4 separate regions of the Homo sapiens genome follow, and all the other regions are linked to region 4. Evidence: promoter capture Hi-C in 16 types of primary human blood cells and fetal thymus (Javierre and others, 2016). All regions are on one chromosome and are shown on one strand. Each heading gives the region's core, a stretch centred on a gene start or on the middle of the fragment in contact. The rest is flanking DNA. Distances are from core to core; before and after follow the strand shown.

Region 1 (3,238 bases), core at 154-2,653, 300 kb after region 4:
CGGGCACAGTGGCTCAAGCCTGTAATCCCAGTACTTCGGGAGGAGGCCAAGGTGGATGGATCGCTTGAGCTCAGGAGTTTGAGACCTAGCCTGGGCAACATAGCGAAACCCTGTCTCTACAAAAATTACCTGGATGTGGTGACGTGTGCCTGTAGTCCCAGCTACTTGAGAGGCTGAGGTGGAAGGATCGCTTTACCCTGGGGGGCGGAGGTTGCAGTGAGTTGAGATCGCACCACTGCACTCCAGTCTGGGTGACAGAGACCTGGTCTCAAAAAAAAAAAAAAAAAAAAGAATCAACAAATTAAAAAAAATCAGCCGGGCACGGTGGCTCACGCCTGTAATCCCAGCACTTTGGGAGGCTGAGGCGGGCGGATCACGAGGTCAGGAGATCAAGACCATCCTGGCTAACATGGTGAAACCCCGTCTCTACTAAAAATACAAAAAATTTGCCGGGCGTGGTGGCGGGCACCTGTGGTCCCAGCGACTTGGGAGGCTGAGGCAGGAGAATGGCGTGAACCCGGAAGGCGGAGCTTGCAGTGAGCCAAGATTGCGCCACTGTACTCCAGCCTGGGCGACAGAGCGAGACTCTGTCTCAGAAAAAAAAAAAAAAAGGAATCTAATTCAAATGAGTTAAGTTATGAAAAGAAAGGGATAATCTCTGTGGCTGAAAAAATAGGCAGGTCCTGAGGTATGGCTTGGTCTGTGTGTGTCTCTCTCTTCCCGCCTCCCTGTCTCCTTCCTTCATCCCTTCACTTCACTTCCTCGTGTTAGCTCTCACACGTTTTCCTAGAAAGGGGGGTAAGATGGTCCCAGGCAGCTTCTCTCTTCTCTAATTCCAGTAAAATGAGAGATGATGACGTCCCTCTCCAATCAGGCTGTGATGACATTTTAGTGCAAATGTTACATTGTTTTTTTTTTTTCTCTTAATACTGGCCGGCCCCAGAGTCGCTGTGATGAAATGGGTTCATGCCATGTAGATTTGACAGCCTGAACACTAAGTCATCATCTGCAACTGAGTTTTTGACTCATGACTTTTGATTTCGGAATTAGGCTGTTTTCACTTTTTATTGACATGTAACATGCGTATAGACAAGTGTACATACAGATCCTGAGTGTGTGGCCAATGGATATCCTTCCTCAGTGCCCAGACCCAGGAGCAGGACCTTCCCAGTACCCACATCCCCTCTGTTAGCCAGTATCCTCCCTTCTGAGGGTAAAGTTGTCCTGGCTTCTAACCCTGTAGATGAGTTTTGTCTCTGTTTTCACTTGATATAGCATACAGCATCTCCTTTTATGTCTGACCTCTGTTGCTCAACACTCTGCTTGTGAGCTCCTTCCCTGTTGTGTGTTTGGGTGCCCCTGGCTCTCGTGCAGTGGGGCAGTGCCATGCATGATGAGCTGCAGCTGAATTGCTTGTTCTGCAGTTGACAGGCCTTTGGGCAGGTTCCTGTTGCTCGCTGCTGTGAGTGCAGCCGCTGTGAGTGCGGCCGCTGTGAATACCCTTGCACGTGTTGTTGGTGCACAAGTGTGTCACTGCCAAATCCAGCATCTTGACTTAGCCCTCTCTTTTCTTCTAAGAGTTTTATAGCATTATTTCTATGGTTTTCCATTCATTTTGAGCTAAATTTTGTATATGATGTGAGGTGGTCCACCTTCATCCCTTTACATATAGATAACCAGTTTTCCCTGCACCAGTTGTTGAAGACACTGTCCTTTCTCCACTGAATCATCTTGGCACCTGTGTAAAAAGGAAATATTTGACCATATGTATGAGTTTGTTTCTTCCCTCTCTGTTCTGTTCTATCAGTCTGTGTGTTGTTTTTATCCAGTACCACACTGGCCTGGTTGCTGTTGCTTTATAGTAAGTTTTGAAAATGGGAGGTTTGTTGGGCACGGTGGCTCACACCTGTAATCCCAGCACTTTGGGAGGCCAAGGTGGATGGATCACCTGAGGTCAGGAGTTTGAGACCAGCCTGGCCAACATGGTGAAACCCCATCTCTACTAAAAATACAAAAATTAGCCGGCTGTGGTGGGTGCCTGTAATCCCAGCTACTCAGGAGGCTGAGGCAGGAATATCGCTTGAACCTGGCAGGCAGAGGTTGCAGTGAGCTGAGATCGCACCATTCATTGCACTCCAGTCTGGGTGACAAGAACGAAACTCCATCTCACAGAAAAAAGAAAATGGGAGGTTTTAGTTTTCCAACCTTGTTCTTCTTTTTAAAGATTGTTTTGCCCTATTTGGGATTTCTTGAGATTCCATATGAATTTTAGGATCAGCTTGTCAATTTCAACCAAGAAGCCACCTTGCGTCTTCTAATACGTGAACATGGATGTCTTTTTATATAGGTCTTAAAATTTCTTTCAACAATGTTTCGTAGGTTTTAGAGTATGAGGCTTTGTATTTCTTTTAAGTTTATTCCTGTTTTCTTCTTTCTGTTACTATTGTAAATGGAATTTTCTTGAAATTGTTTTCAGATTGTTACAAGTATATGAAAATACAATAGGTTTTTGTATGTTGATCTTTCATCCTGCAACCTTGCTGAACTAATGTATGAGTTCTGATAGTTTTAGTGGACTCCTTAGGATTTTCTATGTACAGAATCATGTCATGTGAATAGAGTTCATTTTCCTTCCTTTCAAATCTGGATGATTTTAATTTCCTTTTCTTGCCTGGTTGCCCTGGCTAGCCTCCGGGACAATGTTGAACAGAAGTGGCAAGAACAGGCATCCTTGTTTTGTTCCTGATCTTAGGGGGAAGCATTCAGCGTTTTGCCATGTAAGCATGCTGTTAGTTGTGGGGTTTTGTAGATGCCTTATGTTAGGTTGAGGGGCTTCCTTTATACTCCTTAGTCGTTGAGTATTTTAGTTTACTTTTAACTATATACAGATATATTACTTTCCAGTTAAAGTAGTCAGTTACTCTGTTAAGACAAAAATATTGGGTCAGCATTTTAGACATAGTATATAGTCCCATACTGCATCTTTGGGTCAGCGATGGACCACATATGACAGTGGTCCCGTGAGATTATAATCCTCTATTTTTGCTGTATTTTTCCTATGTTTAGATACACAAACATTTACCATTGTTAGAATTGCCTGTAGTATTCAGTACTGTAACATGCTGTATAGGTCGGTAGTCTAGGAACAATAGGCTATACCACAGAGCCTAGGTGTACAGGAGGCGCCACCATCCAGGTGTGTGTAAGTGCACTCTAGAATGTTCACACAATAGCAAAA
Region 2 (3,388 bases), core at 168-2,667, 340 kb after region 4:
TTTGGGAAATGGACTCTTTGGGGTCAGGGGGAGCCCTCAATTGTCCAGCACCACCTCTCAGGAGCTGACAAAGTCACCAGCTGGACAATAGCCAACAGCTGGTCCCAGGGAATTAGATGAAGCGAGAGGGCCCCACCTCTCAGCCTAGGCACGGTGGGTCCCACTCATGAGAAAAATCAAAATCACTCTGGAGACTAGGTTCATTCTTTTTTGTGTGTGTGACAGGGTCTTGCTCTGTTGCCCAGGCTGGAGTGCAGTAGTGTGATCATGGTTACTGCAGCCTCGACCTCCTGGGCTCAACTGATTCTCCCACCTCAGCCTCCTGAGTAGCTGGGACCACAAACATGCGCCACCATGCCCAGCTCATTTAAAAAAATATTTTTTGTAGAGAGAGGGTCTCCTTATGTTGCCCAAGCTGGTGTCGAATTCTTGGGCTCAAGTGATCCTCCCGCCTCGGCCTCCCAAAGCACTGAGATTACAGGAGTGAGCCACTATGCCTGGCCTGAACCTGGAACTCTTTAATCCTTGGTCATTTGGGCTAAAAAGATGAAATTTATCAGCTCCCTCTACAAACGTGGTGTGTCTAGAGTGAGAAGACACCCTACCTGGGGTTCCTGTGGGAAAGAAAATACAGAGATCAGATCTCGAGGGCCATGAGAGGTGGAGGACTACAAATCCCATCACACCATGGGGCCATGACTTCATAAGCTGAAGCGATACAGAGAATCCATAGCCTCATGGGAACTGTAGTTTCAGTAGGTGGAATTGGTGTGCATTTGGGAAGAACAGAAAGATGACAGGGTGGGACCCAGGGCTGTAGCCAGGGGACGGAGAGGGCTAGGAGATTCTGGTCCCCATGGTCTTTGGGTATCTAGACTCTTTCCTGTGGTTCAGCCTCCTTAGCCACTGGAGCCATCAATAATGGATATCTCAGCTTTGCTGTGGGGGAGAGGCAGACAGGCTGGGGTAGGAGGGTCTTCGAGGATACCCCCTTAGGCCTCTGTTCTCACTTCTCAGCTCCCAATGAGGTCACAGATCTCCAGAATGAAACTCAGACTAAGAACTCAGTCATGCTGTGGTGGAAGGCCCCTGGAGACCCCCACTCTCAGTTGTACGTATACTGGGTCCAGTGGGCCAGCAAGGGACATCCCCGGAGGGGGCAAGATCCCCAAGCGAATTGGGTCAACCAGACCAGCAGGACCAATGAGACGTGGTACAAAGTGGAGGCCCTGGAACCCGGGACGTTGTACAATTTCACCGTGTGGGCAGAGAGGAATGACGTAGCCAGTTCCACGCAGAGCCTCTGTGCGTCCACATGTGAGAATCCCCTTCCTGCCTTCAAGTGGTGAACTGGGCTTAGCTCACAGTCCTTGCGAGCTGAGAGATGAATGGAATACAAATTCCATCAGGCCACAGGCCATGACTTCATGAGCTGCAGTGATGGAGGAGCCCAAGGCCTCATGGGAGTTGTAGTTTAAAAGGACTTATTTGTGTCCATTCGGGGAGGACAGAAAAGGAGGGAAGATGAGGTAGTTTGGATTTGGCGAGGAAGGGATGGGCTCGTCTCAGAAAACTGGGGGTAGGGGTGGAGGGGGTGGAAAGCCACCTTGGATGGCACTGCTGACCTCTTGCTTCCTTCACCCAGACCCAGACACAGTCACCATCACTTCCTGTGTCAGCACCTCAGCGGGCTATGGAGTCAACTTGATCTGGTCCTGCCCCCAGGGAGGCTACGAGGCCTTTGAGTTGGAGGTGGGAGGACAGCGGGGCTCCCAGGACAGATCTTCATGTGGGGAGGCTGTGTCTGTGTTGGGTCTCGGGCCGGCTCGGTCCTACCCAGCCACCATCACGACCATCTGGGACGGAATGAAGGTCGTGTCTCACTCTGTGGTCTGCCACACCGAGAGTGCAGGTGAGCGGAGCCGCGCGGGCCAGCCAGCTATGATGAAATTCTCGGTAGACCCCATCAGGCCCCATTGTGAGGAAATCAGTGGGACTCTTTTGTTTCTCATTTCCTTTGAAACATCTTTTTTATTTTGTATTTTGAGATGGAGTTTTGCTCTTCTTGTCCAGGCTGGAGTGCAGTGGCACGATCTTGGCTCATTGCAACCTCTGCCTCCCGGGTTCAAGTGATTCTCCTGCCTCAGCCTCCTGAGTAGCTGGGACTACAGGCACGTGCCACCACGCCCGGCTAATTTTTGGATTTTTAGTAGAGATGGAGTTTCACCATGTCGGCCAGGCTGGTCTCGAACTCCTGACCTCAGGTGATCTGCCTGCCTCAGGCTCCCAAAGTGCTGGGATTACAGGTGTGGGCCACCGCGCCATCCACAACTCACCACTTAAAGTTACAATTCAGTGACTCTTCTTATATTCACAACATTGTGCAACCATCATCACTATCAATTTTAGAACATTTTCATTACCCCCAACAGAAAGCTCACCCCGCTGAGCCACCACCCCCTAGTTCTCCCATTCCCCAGCCCCCAGCCCTCGGAAATCTCTCATCCACTTTCAATCTCTATAGATTTGCCTCTCTGGGACGTTTCATTAAAATGCAATCATAGAGTGGGCACAGTGGCTCATGCCTGGAATCCCAGCACTTTGGGAGGCTGAGGTGGAAGGATCACTTGAGCTCAGGAGTTCGAGACCAGTCTGGGCAACAGAGTGAGACCCCATCTCTACATTTTAAAAAATTAGCCAGCTGTGGTGGTGTGTGTCTGTAGTCCTAGCTACTCAGGAGGCTGAGTCAGAAGGATCACTTGAGCCCAGGAGGTTGAGACTGCAGTGAACTATGATCGGGGCCACTGCACTCCAGCCTGGGTGAAGGAACGAGACCCTGTTTCAAAAACAAAAAAAATGCAATCATACATTATGTGTTTCTTTGTGACTGGCCACTTTCACTGAGCATAATTTGTTTTTTTGTTTTTGTTTTTGTTTTGAGACTCACTCTGTCACCCAGGCTGGAGTGCAGTGGCATGATCTCTGCTCACTGCAACCTCTGCTACCAGGGTTCAAGCAATTCTTGTGCCTCAGCCACCCAAGTATCTGGGATCACAGGCATGTGCCACCATGCTTGGCTAACTTTTTATTTTTTATTTTTTATTTTTTGAGGCGGAGTTTCACTCTTGTCGCCCAGGCTGGAGTGCAGTGGTGCAATCTCGGCTCACTGCAACCTCCACCTCCCGGGTTCAAGCGATTCTCCTGCCTCAGCCTCCTGAGTAGCTGGGATTATAGGCGCCTCCTACCACGCCCAGCTAACTTTTATACTTTTAATAGAGATGGGGTTTTGCTATGTTGGCCAGGCTGGTCTCAAACTCCTGACCTCCGGTGATCCACCCGCCTCGGCCTCCTGAAGTGCAGGGATTACAGGCATGAGCCACCATGCCCA
Region 3 (3,315 bases), core at 339-2,838, 360 kb after region 4:
GTTCCTGCCCATAGCAGACACCACTAATCAAACCTTCACAAACATACTGCATCTGTGTTACCACGTCTATTTCCTGCCTGTGGCAGACAGCACTAGTCAAATACTGAATCTGCTTAGCCTGTGAGAGCTCAGGTATAGCCCAAGGGACCTGTGAGCCTCCCTTGGCTTCTGAGCCTGATGGATACTGCTATCAGGGGAAGACTTCACCCACCCTTACCCCTGGCTCCTTAAGGTGCAGCCAGAAGTAGAGGAGCTGGAGCCAGCACCATCCGGGCCAGGGCAGCAGGTGGCAGACAAGCATGAGCTAGGACGACTGCAGTACTCCCTGGATTATGACTTCCAGAGTGGCCAGGTGGGTGTGGAGGAAGGGGAAGCTTTGGAGGGAGGATCCCGGGGGTTCCAACCCCTTCTGAAAGGAGCCATGGAAGGGAGGCTAAGACTAGTGTTCCCCACCTCCCCCACTGTGCCTGGGCCCTGCAGCTGCTGGTGGGCATTCTGCAAGCAATGGGATTGGCAGCCTTGGATCTTGGTGGCTCCTCGGACCCCTATGTGCGGGTCTACCTGCTGCCGGACAAACGGAGGCGGTACGAGACCAAGGTGCATCGGCAGACGCTGAACCCTCACTTTGGGGAGACCTTCGCCTTCAAGGTGAGCTCCTGCCTTCAGGCCCCGTGTTCCATAGCCTGTGCCCAGTCCCTGGAACACTAGGGACCGACCCCTTCCGCTTTTCCTGGAGGCGGCCACAGCTCAGGTGGCAGCTACCAGCTCTGGGGCTATTCCACTGGACCCTGGGCACTACTGACTCCTGGGCTGTAGCCTGGTCCTTGGGCGGTACGATTTGGGTTCCACTGACCCGTGATTTTTTTCCGCATGGATCCCTGGACTTTCCCATTTGAGTTCCCCCAACTGTTCGCTTCGACCCTCGCTGCCTCACTCCATGCCTTCCTTCTGGTTGTGCTGTGCCTCACCCTATCTCTGACTTCCTGCTCTCTACTGCGGATTCTCTGTGCACTCCAGGTCCCCTACGTGGAGCTGGGGGGCAGGGTGCTGGTCATGGCGGTGTACGACTTCGACCGCTTCTCTCGCAATGACGCCATCGGGGAGGTGCGGGTCCCTATGAGCTCCGTGGACCTGGGGCGGCCAGTGCAGGCCTGGCGGGAGCTGCAGGCGGCTCCGCGGGAGGAGGTGAGCATGCGCGGTCGCGCCCCGAGCCACGCCCCCAGGCCCAGTCCCGCCCACAACATCCTGAGCCAATCAGATCATAGGCTTTCCAGACCCTCAGGGCGGCGTGGATTGTACCCCTGAGGAGGCATGGATGTGGAGCCGGGGCTCTGGTGATGGGCCCCTCTCCTTTCAGCAGGAGAAGCTTGGGGACATCTGCTTCTCCCTCCGCTATGTCCCCACGGCCGGGAAGCTCACCGTCATCGTCCTGGAGGCTAAAAACCTGAAGAAGATGGACGTAGGAGGACTGTCAGGTGTGTGGGAAGCAAGGGAGTGGGGTGTGTGGGGATGGCGTGGGGTGGGTTCTCGTTCTGACAGTTTCTGAGCCTCGAGGGTTTCTTCGGGGACAGGGAGGACCTGGCTGCTGTGGAAGGCATGGATTTTGGCATAGAGCTAGGGAGACCCGAAGGGTGTAGGCAGTGTTTCTATGTTGGTCCAACAACCCAGCAGTGGGGAGCTATAAGACTCCTCCTTCCTCTCCCCAGATCCATACGTCAAGGTCCACCTGCTGCAGGGCGGCAAAAAGGTGCGGAAGAAGAAAACCACCATCAAGAAGAACACTCTGAACCCCTATTACAACGAAGCTTTCAGCTTCGAGGTGCCCTGTGACCAAGTCCAGGTGAGCTCAAACCTGCCCTTCTCCAAGAGCCCAGACCTTTAGTAATCGCCATTGCTAGGCGGAGGGAGACTTTTTAGCATCTCCCTAGAAACCAGGTGAGGGGGTCTGAGGTTATGCTCTCAGTCTGTTTCCTCCTATGAGGACCAGGAAGCCTCTTCCACTCCAGGAAGAGACTCCTTAAAATTGGGTGTGGGTGTCCTATCTGCTCTAAGCGGGACCGGGATGTCCCACCCCTAAGCAGTACCAGATGCTCCACCCTAAGCAGGATCAGTATGCCCCGCCCCACCAAGCGGAACCAGGATGCTCCGCCCCCAAGCAGGACCAGGATGCCCCGCCCCCAAGCAGGACCAGGATGCCCCGCCCCCAAGCGGGACCAGGATGCCCCACTCCTAAGCGGGACCAGATTCCCCACCCTAAGCAGGACCAGGATGCCCCGCCCTCCTCAGGAACGTGGTTCTAAGAAAAAGAGACCTCCCCTCACTTCTTTAGGGACGGCGCCTACCCTAGCCCGGCCCCTGTTAAAGTTCTGCAGCTTTGCGGCTCTTAGGAGGCTGCTCCCCCAGGAGGCGCCGAACACACCCGCTCCGCAACCGAGTCCTGAGGGTTCATTTCCTTAGAAACCTGGCTGCGCAGGAAGAAAGGCGCCAGAGCCTCCTCCTCGCCGCAGGCTCCGTCCCTCTCGTCTCCCACCCCCTCCCCCGTCCCGAGCTCCGGGGCCCCGAGCCCTCGGGTGGCAGCGAGAGGTACCCTCAGCCGTGAAAACGGACACCGCCCCTTCCGGGGCCTCCTCCCCTCACGCTCCTCTCTCCTCTTCCTCCCGCGCCCACCCCAGAAGGTGCAGGTGGAGCTGACCGTGCTGGACTACGACAAGCTGGGCAAGAACGAGGCCATCGGGAGGGTGGCCGTGGGGGCGGCCGCCGGCGGGGCTGGCCTGCGGCACTGGGCGGACATGCTGGCCAACCCGCGGCGGCCCATTGCCCAGTGGCACTCGCTGCGGCCCCCGGACCGAGTGAGGCTGCTGCCTGCGCCCTGACTCCCACCCCAAGCCCCCGGCCAAGCCTGGACTCTAGCCCCTGACCCCAGACTCCCGAGACCGGCCAAAGCCAAGCCAGCCCCACCCTTAAGCTTCCTCTGACGGTTACCCTCCCCCCACCTTCCACCCCAACCATCTGAACCATTCCTGTCTTCTCACCCCCAACGATGCCAATCACGACAACTTTCCAGCACACTCCCCCGACCCTCGCGGACACACCCAGATGCCCCAGGGACCCCGGGAAGGGAAGGCAGCCTGGTTTCTCCTGCCCCCGGGTCCTGCCCCCTGCTTTGACAATCAGCCATCCTCGTCTGCTCTCCTCTCTCTTCCAACACAGCCCATCCCTGCACTGCTCCTGGGGCCAAATAAATATTCAGCAGCTCCGGTGGCCTGGGCCCATGCTCCTTGATGGGGGTGGGCAAGGGCTGGGACCCAAGAGGAA
Region 4 (3,389 bases), core at 146-2,645:
GATTCCGTCTCAAAAAGCAAAAAAAAAAAAAAAAAAAAGAAATAAAAAACCCTGAAGGGTGGGTGCAACCGTCCCAGAAAAAAACAGGGGTCTGAAGTCCCACTGTGGCCCAAGGCTTGGGGACTTCCTAGTGGGGCTTAATCTCCCTGTGCTTACAGCAGGGAGGCACTCACTGGCCTGTATTCCTGTTATGCGCTTTCAAACTATTTTTATTGTTATTCCTCTCTTTGGAATCAGGAGCCCTCAGGCCCTCCTCCCTCAGACCCAGGAGTCCAGGTCCTCAACCCCCTCCTCCCTCAGGCCCAGGAGTCCAGGTCCTCAACCCCCTCCACCCTCAGGCCCAGGAGTCCGGGTCCTCAACCCCCTCCTCCCTCAGACCTAGGAGTCCAGGTCCTCAACCCCCTCCTCCATCAGGCCCAGGAGTCCGGGTCCCGTGTAGAAAATGAAATCATTTCTGGAACCCACCCCTGCCTTGACCCCACCCAGCTGCCCCATCAATGCCCCATTGACAGGTCAGACACAAGTGCTTGGAGAGGGGTGTCCAGGGGATCAGATGCTGGGGTCTAGTTTGGGGAAAGAATGAGACAATGAGATTCCAGAACGATGCAGTGTGGGATGACCTCAGACTCAGAGGGGCGGGAAGCAGGTGCTGGAGCAACTGGGAAGAGAGGCCTTGAGGGGGTGGGGAGGCCTCAGTTCTGCCGGAAAACTTCAGATGGGTGGGGGAGGCTGAGGCCTGGACTCCTGGGTCTGAGGGAGGAGGGACTGGGGCCTGGACTCCTGGGTCTGAGGGAGGAGGGGCTGGGGCCTGGACTCCTGGGTCTGAGGGAGGAGGGGCTGGGGGTCTGGACTCCTAGGTCTGAGGGAGGAGGGGCTGGAGACCTGAATTCCTGGGTCTGAGGGAGGAGGGGCTGGAGACCTAGACTCCTGGGTCTGAGGGAGGAGGGGCTGGGGTCTAGACTCCTGGGTCTGAGGGAGGAGGCACTGGGGGACTGGATTCCTGGGTCTGAGGGAGGGAAAGCTGGGGGCCTGGATTCCTGGGTCTGAGGGAAGAAGAGCTGGGGGCCTGGACTCCTGGGTCTGAGGGAGGAGGGGCTGGGGCCTGGACTCCTGGGTCTGAGGGAGGAGGCACTGGGAGACTGGATTCCTGGGTCTGAGGGAGGAGGCGCTGGGGGCCTGGACTCCTGAGTCTGAGGGAGGAGGAGGGGCTGGGGCCTGGACTCCTGGGTCTGAAGGAGGAGGGCTCAACTCTTGGGTCAGGGTATTCACCTGACCACAGCCAGTTCCAGGAGTCATCACACGATGTCGCTCTGCTCCCAGTGGGGGCAGAAGGGGCGGGCCCAGGGGCGGGGCCTTACGACCCCCAAAGTCGGGGCGGGGTCTTGCTCCTAGGCAGGCCTCTGCTGGCATGAGCCCTAAGTGCCGGGCACTGACCACAGCCGGCGGCCGGAGGGTCAGGAGGGCCTTGGAGGAGGTGAGGTCTGGAGGTCTGAGCCCAGGTTGGGAGGTGGGCAAGGTGCCCTGGCCTGAGGTGGGCAGCACCTGAGGGTGACTGTACCAGGTGGCCCGAGTCCTCGGTCCCTCAGGGGAGCCTGGGCTGCACCTGGAGGCTGTAGAGCGGTGGAGGGTGAGGGAAACAGAATCAGGGGGTCCCCAGTTGTGTGAATTGTATGAGGTTCCGGGAGAGAGGTGGGCTGGGGGCCTGGACCCCTGGGCCTGGCGGAGGAGGGGCTGGGGGGCTGGGTCGGAGGGAGGTGGGTGGGCTGTGAAAGTGGGACCCCAGGCCTGTCAGGAGCTTGGGGACTGATCCCAAGTGCTCGGTCCCATGCAGGACCCAGGCGTCCCAGGCCCTCTGCACAGCCCGCCCTCCCAGCCCTGAGCCCAAGAGCACCTGTTTGTTCTCAGGAGACAGAGTCTACTCATCCACCCCCAGGGCCCAAGTCTGTTTGCTTTGGAAACAAGATGGGGGAGTCTCAGTTATCTGGTTCATCTTTCAACCTCAGGGTGGGCGGGTGGCGGCGGCGGCACGCGGGCAGGGACATCTGTGACCTGGGGCTTGAACTCACACCAGACTTGTCTCCCCACCTCTCACCAAGAGGGAGACTGAGTCACAATGAGAAGCGCGATGAGCCCCCAGCCCCTCCTCCCTCAGACCCAGGAGTCCAGACCCCCAGTCCCCTCCTCCCTTGGGCCTGGGACCTGAGCCTGGGCACCCCTCTCTGTTCTCGCAGAGATGCCCGGCAAACAGTCTGAGGAAGGGCCGGCGGAGGCAGGGGCTTCGGAGGACAGCGAGGAGGAGGGTCTGGGCGGCCTGACATTAGAGGAGCTCCAGCAGGGCCAGGAGGCTGCCCGCGCGCTGGAGGACATGATGACGCTGAGTGCTCAGACCCTGGTCCGAGCCGAGGTGGACGAGCTCTACGAGGAAGTGCGTCCCCTGGGCCAGGGTTGCTATGGCCGCGTCCTTCTGGTCACCCATCGTCAGAAAGGTACGAGGCTGTGGGGCCAGAGGTGGCAGGGTTCAGCTGGGGGCGGGGCACGGGCCTGGGGTAGCCCAGGCTGGGGAGGCTGGCAGGCCTGAATCAAGTCTTACCTCTGCCCTCCAAAGCTGTGTGTTTTTTGTTTTTTGTTCTTTTGGTTGGTTGGTTGTTTTTGAGACAGTCTGGCTCTGCCGCCCAGGCTGGAGTGCAGTGGCACAATCTCACTGCAACTTCCACCTCCCAGGTTCAAGTGTTCCTCCTGCCTCAGCCTCCCATGTAGCTAGGACTATAGGCATGCACTACCACACCCAGCTACATTTGTGTGTGTGTGTATTTTTCTTTCTTAGTAGAGATGAGGTTTCACTCTGTTGGCCAGGGTGGTCTCGTACTCCTGGCCTCCAGTGATCCGCCTGCCTCAGCCTCCCAATTGCTGGGATTACAGGCATGAGCCACGGTGCCCTGCCAAAAACTGTGTTTTGAGGAACTCCCTTGCCCTCTCTGAGTCTCAGCTTCCTCCTTTGGAAAATGTGGGTGATGATTTCTACTTGGAAGAATGGTGGATCCTCTGAGTGAATGTGGACTGCTCTAGTTGCTGGGGTTGTATAATGCTGGGTAAGACAGAGCTCCCAGCTCAGGAGCCTCCTGTGGCGGCTGTAGTGGTCACCGTGGGATGATGCAGAGTGATGCTGTCTGCTAAGCACTTAGCAAGGCCGGCACACAGTGGGTGCGCAGGACAGCTCCCCACTACCCTGGGCCTTTCTGCCAAGCACCGTGTCCTTCCATGAAACGGAAAATAGGGAGGCAACCTGAGGTCAGTCAGTTCAGGGCACGCCTTCTGAGGCCAGCCCTGTGCTGGGGGGGTTGGGCGGGCAGTGGACCCAGAATTGAACCAGAGCCAGTCCCTGCCTTCAA

Evidence for each region. Contacts are between HindIII fragments. The CHiCAGO score rates a contact against its expected background, and 5 or more counts as called.
Region 1: a contact is called between a fragment that was not itself captured here and the fragment with the promoter of SBK2 in region 4, in 1 of 17 cell types (monocytes). The highest score is 6.0, in monocytes.
Region 2: a fragment that was not itself captured here is called in contact with the fragment with the promoter of SBK2 in region 4 in 1 of 17 cell types (monocytes); the score reaches 5.8 in monocytes.
Region 3: a fragment that was not itself captured here is called in contact with the fragment with the promoter of SBK2 in region 4 in 1 of 17 cell types (activated CD4 T cells); the score reaches 7.3 in activated CD4 T cells.

Annotation. Positions count from the first base shown.
Region 1 is chr19:55,232,893-55,236,130 of GRCh38, reverse strand. The region is part of intron 17 of PPP6R1 (protein phosphatase 6 regulatory subunit 1); the gene reads left to right. Among named protein-coding and RNA genes, the nearest start is that of MIR6804, 3.6 kb to the right of the region's middle. The HindIII fragment of the contact is 3,764 bases long and covers 1-3,238 here.
Region 2 is chr19:55,195,046-55,198,433 of GRCh38, reverse strand. It overlaps PTPRH (protein tyrosine phosphatase receptor type H), which reads left to right. Exons shown (of 20, transcript NM_002842.5): 9 at 1,018-1,317; 10 at 1,646-1,912. Among named protein-coding and RNA genes, the nearest start is that of PTPRH, 13 kb to the left of the region's middle. The HindIII fragment of the contact is 4,783 bases long and covers 1-3,388 here.
Region 3 is chr19:55,173,042-55,176,356 of GRCh38, reverse strand. It overlaps SYT5 (synaptotagmin 5), which reads left to right. Exons shown (of 9, transcript NM_003180.3): 4 at 233-352; 5 at 481-648; 6 at 1,018-1,185; 7 at 1,358-1,475; 8 at 1,707-1,840; 9 at 2,673-3,315. The coding sequence ends at 2,873. Among named protein-coding and RNA genes, the nearest start is that of SYT5, 5.6 kb to the left of the region's middle. The HindIII fragment of the contact is 439 bases long and covers 1,369-1,807 here.
Region 4 is chr19:55,535,139-55,538,527 of GRCh38, reverse strand. SBK2 (SH3 domain binding kinase family member 2) reads left to right here and starts at 1,395. Exons shown (of 4, transcript NM_001370096.2): 1 at 1,395-1,474; 2 at 2,232-2,486. The coding sequence starts at 2,234. RefSeq lists a silencer at 492-786. The HindIII fragment of the contact is 39,425 bases long and covers 1-3,389 here.